Linked DNA regions of Homo sapiens: all the other regions are linked to region 2. The links are contacts of gene promoters, found by promoter capture Hi-C in blood cells and fetal thymus (Javierre and others, 2016). All regions are on one chromosome and are shown on one strand. Each heading gives the region's core, a stretch centred on a gene start or on the middle of the fragment in contact. The rest is flanking DNA. Distances are from core to core; before and after follow the strand shown.

Region 1 (2,700 bases), core at 180-2,679, 1.0 Mb before region 2:
CTTGCAGACTTTCATAAAAAACTACTAAGAAATTTTGGACACTAAAGTTTGATTTCATTATTTTCCTGGGGCTTGAGCTCTCTCAGAAGTCTGTGAAACATACAGATCTAGTAACCCCACTATGTGTTTCTCTATGCAAAGGTTAATGTTACAGGTCTTTACAATTTTAAAACCTTTGGCCAGGCACAGTGGCTCACGCCTATAATCCCAGCACTTTGGGAGGCTGAGGTGGGTGGATCACTTGAGGTCAGGCCAACACAGTGAAACCTCATCTCTAATAAAAATACAAAAATTAGCCAGGTGTGGTGGGACACGATTGTAATCCCAGCTACTCCGGAGGGTGAGGCATGAGAATCGCTTGAACTGGGGAGACAGAGATTGCAGTGAGCCGAGATCGCATCACTGCACTCCAGCCTGGGTGACAGAGCAAGACTCTTGTCTCAAATAAATAAATGAATATGATAAATAAAAAAAACTATCCAAACTTATAGATTATCTTAAATCTTCAACAGCTTTCTTTAAGCTTCCGTTCTCTGGGTAAGATATTAATGGCTATTGAGATGACAAGACTAGTCAGCCTAAGGAATTAGAAAACACACAGAGGATTAATCCTCTAAATGGAAACACAGTCACTTAATGACCTATGTTTTAAAAGATTATGAGAAATAAACTTCAAAGTGATGCCTACGGATTTTTCCCAGGGGGGTTAAGAGAATTAAATTATGGATTAAAGAAAGCAAAAATACAAACAAATTGTGTTGACTGGTGGATCAATGTTGACCTAACAGGTGATGTTATAAGTCCCGGTAAAAAATACTAACAGTAGCAATGTGAACAATGTTCTGTGTGCTTACTCTTCAATATATAAATGGAATTTCCATGGATTAGAATTTGAGTGTTCAATAGTAGAAAAATAGATAGCATAAATCTGTAAATAGGCCGGGCGTGGTGGCTCACGCTTGTAATCCTAGCACTCCAGGAGGCCAAGGTGGGGTGGACCACATGAGGTCAGGAGTGTGAGACCAGCCTGGCCAACATGGTGAAACTCCATCTCTACACAAAAAGTAGCCGGGTGTGGTGGCGCACACCTGAATTCTCAGGTACTCAAGAAGCTGAGGCACAAGAATTGCTTAAACCCAAGAGGCGGAGGTTGCAGTGAGCCAAGATCCCAAGATCGCATCACTACACTCCAGCCTGAGGGACAGAGTGAGACTCTGTCTCAAGAAAAATAAATAAATAAAATCTGTAAATAGATTCCCATTTACAGAAGAAGATGTATGCCCAAGAGAGGATTCATTTTCTTGGGCATATATCTTCTTGGGAATACTGGTGCTCTGTTACCTACTCATTCTCCATATCAGTCTTTGTTTTTAAAGAGAGCAATATAGTTAGAAATGCTGAAAAATGTAGCCATCATACTGTCAAACTGATTACCAATGGAGAGACTGAGGCTTTGAGAGACTGGATTTTTCCAGGCTGCACATGTTGTTAGTGGCACTACTCGCCTAATTCCTAATCCAATACTTTGATTTCTCACATCCTGCCTCACAGAAGAGGAAAAATCCACAGTTAGATTCTAGTCTTTTTCACTTCAGCTTTTAACTAATTGCTATGCCTCCTTTTACATAGCAGACTGAAGAGTTGCTGATTATAAAAAGCAAGCAGACCATAAAATGAAAACCCTACTTATAAATCCAAATTAATGGCACATCTTTATTGGACAGTTTTAGGGACCTGGAGGGATTCCTGGTCTTTCTATTTCTTATTGATCTAGGAAACAAGGGTATAAACAACCTAAAAGACTTCAAAAATGCTATTTTAGCTGCTGCTGATCTTGAAAGCCAAAATGAGAGAATAGTGGAATAACAGCCCAATCTAGGGGTAACCTGGGTGAAAAGCCAAACACTTAACTGAATTGGTTGTCCTTTCAATCTTGCCTTTCATTCCCAGGGTGGTAGAAAGGTATTCAGATGTCTCCATTATGTTGCTTAATCTTGCTGGCCAAAAAGGCTGAGGGTTCTCATTAATTTAATGGGAAGCTGCTAAGTCCTTACCATTCTCACTATGGAATGCACCATGGTCAGCACTATCTGTCATTCCCAATTTATTATTGTCTGATAGCTAACATGCTGCTGCACTTGACCATCTTAGGGAATCCATTCTCTCTTCGTACACTTTGGATAGAGTTATTTCAATATAAAAACAGCACATTTTAAATGTCAAATAATAAACAAACATGTTAATGATTTTTTAAATAATTGTTTTCTTTGAGAAAAAGAATTTGTTGGAACATAATCCATATGACATTAGAATGTAGTTGAGACACTAAGCTTTCTTTTTTAAAGTTGTGAGCAGCTGGGAACAGTGACTCATGCCTGCTATCCCAGCACCTTGGGAGGCTGAGGCAGGCAGATCACTTGAGCCCAGGAGTTCGAGACCAGCCTAGGCCACATTGTGAGACCAAATCTCTACTAAAAATACAGAAATCAGCCAGGCATGGTGGCAGGCACCCATAGCCCCAGCTATTGAGGAGGCTGAGAAGTGAGAGGATTGCTTGAGCCCAGGAGGTCACAGCGGCAGTGAGCCATGATTGTGTCATGGCAACTCAGCCTGAGTGACAGTGTGAGACCCTATCTCAAAAATAATAAAATAAAATAAAATTAAAAAGTGTGGGCAATGTCCCTAATTTGCAGTTTATGG
Region 2 (2,700 bases), core at 169-2,668:
TCCTTTGAGGGAGAACTAAGGAAGCATACGTTAATGAAGCCCATTTTGATAAAGTCTTAAGATAATCATTAAACATTGAGGATTTTTTTTTATTGCCAAGTTATTTTAAAACAGACATCCCCATCTGTTCCTGAATTTTACCCCGTATTTATGCACCGCCCCGTTTCTCCTTGCCTTCAAGACCGGGCTCCGAGACACAGTGAGAGAGAGCAATGGAGGAAGCTCAGCAGTGTCCACTGTCGCCATTCCTTGGCCATAGAAAACAATGTATTTGAATTTTGATGTAAGCATAACAAATTGGTATGTCCATGGCATGCAACTTTGATTTTCATTTATTTATTTATAATAGCATGCCTTAAGTAATCGAACTCTTTTAAAAATACCCATTAAACGTTTGGATTTAAAGGGATTCCATGACATAGAGCAATTGACTCTGGGTGATATATATTTCTATTTTCTGTAACTGTTTTCTACATTACTAGAAATTTCATCAGAGTCTTTGCCACATTGTGTAAATATAGATCTCACAAATGAACTTTATGGTATTACAGATATGGCTTTTTTAAATTTTTGTCGTTCTTGTTTTTTGAAAACCATTTCACTGTGAGACACACTGCATCCATACATCTCTTGGTAGATTGATATTAAAATAGACAATTTCAGAATGTCAGTAGGATTTCAGTCCAAACCACTGAGATTTTATTCTTTTAAGTAGGGCAAATAATTTTATTTATTTCCTTATAATTCTTTATTATACACATGACCTTAAAAATTAAAAAAATATTTAAGAATAGAAACATAAGAGGTGGGTTTTTTAATTGTATTTTTTTCTCAAATATCTTTCAGCATATTATTTGTATGTGGCCTCCATTCTTTCCAGTGAGATAGAATTTAATCAATTGTTATGGTTTCAAAAATGTCAGAAAAATGCGACTTTTACAAAACAAAAAATTTTATATAGCAAAATAACTTGCTTTTTAAATAAATGCTGCTGTAAATAATTTTATAAAATTGAATGACTTCTTGGTTTATCCATTGCAGTGTATTTATTTCTCTTATATAAATGGAAGAATAATTCCTATATGTGAAGAATTATAATCATAGTTTTTAACCTATTTCTTTGTCATTCAGAAGATGAAGATGACACGTTGATTTCTTGTTTGAAATTAACCAAGTCCCGAGAAAAGAAAGTGAATAGTGTTAGCACGAGGAGGAAGGAAGAAATGGAGATTAGATTGGATACTCTTTCTGCATCACTGGGTAGATCCAGCACTTTAAATAACTGCAACTTGGAAGATAAATTAGCTTGGTATGAAGGTGAAGCTTACATGTGGCATCACTGGAAGCCTTTTCCTGAAAACCCTCTCTGGACATGTCTTGATTTCCAAATAGCACAAGTTGGACCCTGGGACCACTGCTCCTCTTGTATTCGCCACACACGTCTCAAGTCTTCCTGCTCAGATATGGATCTCCTACATTCATGGGTAAGTTTGCAGACTACGGAAATGTGTCATCTTATCTGGGGTTTTGTACTGTCGGGAAAGAAACAGATAGCAAAAGTGCTAATCAGTGAAATTTATCAGTTTCAGAAAAGTTACCAGAGCAAGAGTTGTCTTTCCAAAAAGCAACCAAACTCTTGTGACTTTTACCCATATTAACATTTCATATATTCCTTTGTGTACAAATTAATGACTGCATAAAATTTTTCCAGGGATTTCTTTTTGATTGAAGGAAGACTTCGTGTGTTGACTGAGATCAAGAAAATGTGAAGTGAACTGTCTAAATTATTGCAATTATAATGAAATTTCACTGAAAAATAATAGCTAATTTTAATGAGCATTTTATTTGGGCCTGCCATTTTCCTAAGCATTTTATATGTATTATCTCATTTAAATCTCACATCAACTCTATAAGGTAAGGACTTACATTATGAAATATTACCTTAAGAAATATTATTTTTGGCCAGGCACGGTGGCTCATGCCTGTAATCCCAGCACTTTTGGGAGGCCGAGGCGGGAGGATCATGAGGTCAGGAGATCGAGACCATCCTGGCTAACAAGGTGAAACCCCGTCTCTACTAAAAATACAAAAAAATTAGCCGGGCGTGGTGGCGGGCACCTGTAGTTCCAGCTACTCGGGAGGCTGAGGCGGAAGAATGGCGTGAACCCAGGAGGTGGAGCTTGCAGTGAGCCGAGATCGCGCCACTGCCCTCCAGCCTGGGCGACTGAGCAAGACTCGTCCTCAAAAAAAAAAAAAAAAAAAAAAAAAAAAAAAAGAAATATTATTTCCCCTCATTTTACAGTTGAGAAAATGGAGGCACAAAAAGTTGGTAACAGGTGCAAAGTCAGACAGCTAACAGGAGGTAGAGCCAAGACCTATAACCTAGGTCTTGCTTTTAGCTAGAGCTCCTGCTTTTAGCTACTACATTAGAGTGTTTTCCATATACGAGGGCAGACTCTAAGGCTATTATGTGATACGTGAGAAAGAGTATGCTCTCTGGAGTCAAACAAATTTGGATGGATTCTGGCTGTGCTACTTTTTTTTTGGGCTTGGATAAGTTATTTAAACCTTTTAATCTTAACTTTCTTAACTAAAAAATGGAAATAGTCAAGAAGCTAAAGTCAAATATTATAAATCTTCTAGTACTTAAGAGTGGTACTTTTTTTTCAATTTCCTTGTAAATTGCTCAAGGCATGTTTT
Region 3 (2,700 bases), core at 5-2,504, 1.2 Mb before region 2:
CATGGAAATATCGGCATTTACTGAGCTATAGCTTAAGAAAAAAAAATTAAAAAAAAAAACACACTTGAGAGCATATCTGTTACAGTTTTACAATAAAAAGACCAAAAATACCACTCACTCTACAATAATGGTTATTAATTAGGTATCAAGTCAGAAATGCAGTATAGTTGACAACAGAAATAAAATTTACTTCCAAAAGCTTAACATATTACAATATCCTGAAATACATATACCGATTTCCTTAGTTGAAGCCACAAATGCCAAATTAGCTTCTGCAAAACACTGCCATCTGTCAAATTAAGCTAACCTTTTTATTCTGAATTTCTCCAGTTTTGTAGTTTTGGTTACCTTTAAGTTAGTAGTTGGTTTTTCATCTTATTACATAAGAGCTACCCAACAGAACATAATAAATGTATGCCTAGTTTATATTTAAACAAGTTTCAGTAAAACCATAATAAAAATATTTTAATTTGGCTGAGCACAGTGGCTCATGCCTGTAATGCCAATGCTTTGGAAGGCCAAAGTGAAAGGTTTGCTTAACACCAGGAATTCAAGACCAGCCTGGGAAACAGAGCGAGACCCCATCTCTACAAAAAAAAAAAAAAAAAAAAAAAAAACTAAAAAGTAGCTGGGTGGATGGTACACACCTGTAGTCCCAGCTACTTGGGAGGCTGAGGAGGGAGGATAGTGTGGGTCCAGGAGTTTGAGGCTGAAGCAGGCTATGATTATGCCACTGCACTCCAGCCTGGGCAAGAGAGCAAGACTCTGTCTCAAAAATATATTTTTTAATTCAAGGGCGAAAGTTCCTGACACCTGTTTTTCTTTACAATGGTCCCAACTGAAGAATTTAAAAAGTATACATACTGTTGTCAGGCAGAGTATTAATGGGAAGGAGGAACTGTTCAATAAAGTCGCTGGTTCTCCAGAGGGGAAAAATTCTGACATCTACTCAAACAACATGCAAAAATCAAACCCAAGTGGAATGAAACTTAAACCCTGCATGAAGACAAATTAAGAAAACACTTAGAGGGCAATAAATGAGACTATCTTTGTGAAACAGGACATGGAAGTTCAAATATTAAAGGAAGCTAATTATACATGAAACTAAATTAAAAATAAAAATGTCTACTCATGAAAGTACATAAAGAGAATAAAAAGACATCGTGAAAACAGAAAATATTTGCAAAACATATACAGTAGTTTCCCCTTATCTCGTTTCACTTTTTGAAGTTTCAGTTACCAATGATCAAGCGTAGTCCAAAAATATGAAAAGTTCCAGAAACGATGTTTTAAATTGTGCACTATTCTGACTGAGTGCTGTGCATAATGAAATCTCACTCCATGCCACCCACAACATGAATCTTCCCTTTGTCCAACATATCCACACTGTGTATACTACCCACTTAGTAGTCAGCAGCCATCTCAGTTATCGGATATTTTGAAAAAGACTACATTCACACAACATTATATTATCATAGTTGTTCTATTTCATTACTAGTTATTGTTGTTAGTCTCTACTAATTTATAAATTACCTAATTTATAAATTAAACTTTATCACAGGTAGATACTATATATAGGAAAAAAACTATATGTACTATATAGTTATATAGTGCCTAATTTATAAATTAAACTTTATCACAGGTATATATAGATAAGAAAAAACTATATATACTATATTCTATATAGTACTGAACCATACTATATATGGTATACTATTTCAAATATTTTGAAAACATATACAGTATGTTATGTGAATGTAGTCTCTTTCAAAATATACTCTATAAATGGTTCAATACTAGCCACAGTTTCAGGCATCCACTGGGGGTCTTGGAACACATTCCATGAGAGTAAACGTGGACTATTGTAAATAGAAAAACAAAAGTAGTATCTAAACCATAAAGAACTACCTCAAATCATAAAGAAAAAGATAAATAGCCCAAAAGAAAAAACAGGCAAGAGAAACAAATGTCAATTTCACAGAAAAGAATCACAGTGGACCATAAATATATAAAAAGATATATAAACAAATAGTTTAACTGTAGAATGGTTAAGCTGTAGTATATCTAGAAGTATAAATTAACAATAACACATTTTTAACAAAATAAGAAGTGCAACAACTAAAACCATACTTAGTAGTAAAAGACTGCTTTCCATACAAAATCGGGAACAAGACAAAGATGTCTGTCATTACCACTTCTATTAAACATTTTAGAGAATACCCCAAAAAGCACAATTTTTAAAATGAATAAAAGTGGTAAATACATTTATTAGAATAAGTGAATTTCGCAAAGTCGCAGATACAAGCTTCATACAGAAAAATCAACCACATTCTATATACCAGCAAAAAACAATTGGAATAAAAACTAAAAACCACTGGCAGGGTGCAGTGGCTCACAACTGTAATCCCAGCACTTTGGGAGGCCGAGGCTGGTGGATCATGCTGTCCAGAGATCAAGACTATCCTGGCTATAACACAGTGAAACTCCATCTCTACTAAAAATACAAAAAATTAGCCGGGTGTGGTGGCACACACCTGTAGTCCCAGCTACTAGGGAGGCTGAGGCAGGAGAATCGCTTGAACCTGGGAGGCGGCGGTTGCAGTGAAAGTGAGACTGCGTCTCAAAAAAAATAAAAATAAAAATAAAAAATACCACTTACAATAGCATCAAAAAAGTCAACTGTAACAAAAGATATGCAAA

Evidence for each region. Contacts are between HindIII fragments. The CHiCAGO score rates a contact against its expected background, and 5 or more counts as called.
Region 1: a fragment that was not itself captured here is called in contact with the fragment with the promoter of SAMSN1-AS1 in region 2 in 4 of 17 cell types (M2 macrophages, M0 macrophages, naive CD8 T cells and 1 more); the score reaches 7.6 in M2 macrophages.
Region 3: a fragment that was not itself captured here is called in contact with the fragment with the promoter of SAMSN1-AS1 in region 2 in 2 of 17 cell types (total CD4 T cells and activated CD4 T cells); the score reaches 6.2 in total CD4 T cells.

What each region holds. Positions count from the first base shown.
Region 1 is chr21:15,588,662-15,591,361 of GRCh38, reverse strand. The region is part of intron 1 of LOC105369302 (a long non-coding RNA gene); the gene reads left to right. Among named protein-coding and RNA genes, the nearest start is that of USP25, 140 kb to the left of the region's middle. The HindIII fragment of the contact is 1,807 bases long and covers 526-2,332 here.
Region 2 is chr21:14,580,920-14,583,619 of GRCh38, reverse strand. It overlaps SAMSN1-AS1 (SAMSN1 antisense RNA 1), which reads right to left and starts at 1,418. Exons shown (of 5, transcript NR_046512.2): 1 at 1,329-1,418. It also overlaps a transcript of SAMSN1 not described here. The HindIII fragment of the contact is 2,204 bases long and covers 1,326-2,700 here.
Region 3 is chr21:15,746,372-15,749,071 of GRCh38, reverse strand. All of the region lies in intron 1 of USP25 (ubiquitin specific peptidase 25), which reads right to left. Among named protein-coding and RNA genes, the nearest start is that of USP25, 18 kb to the right of the region's middle. The HindIII fragment of the contact is 2,106 bases long and covers 202-2,307 here.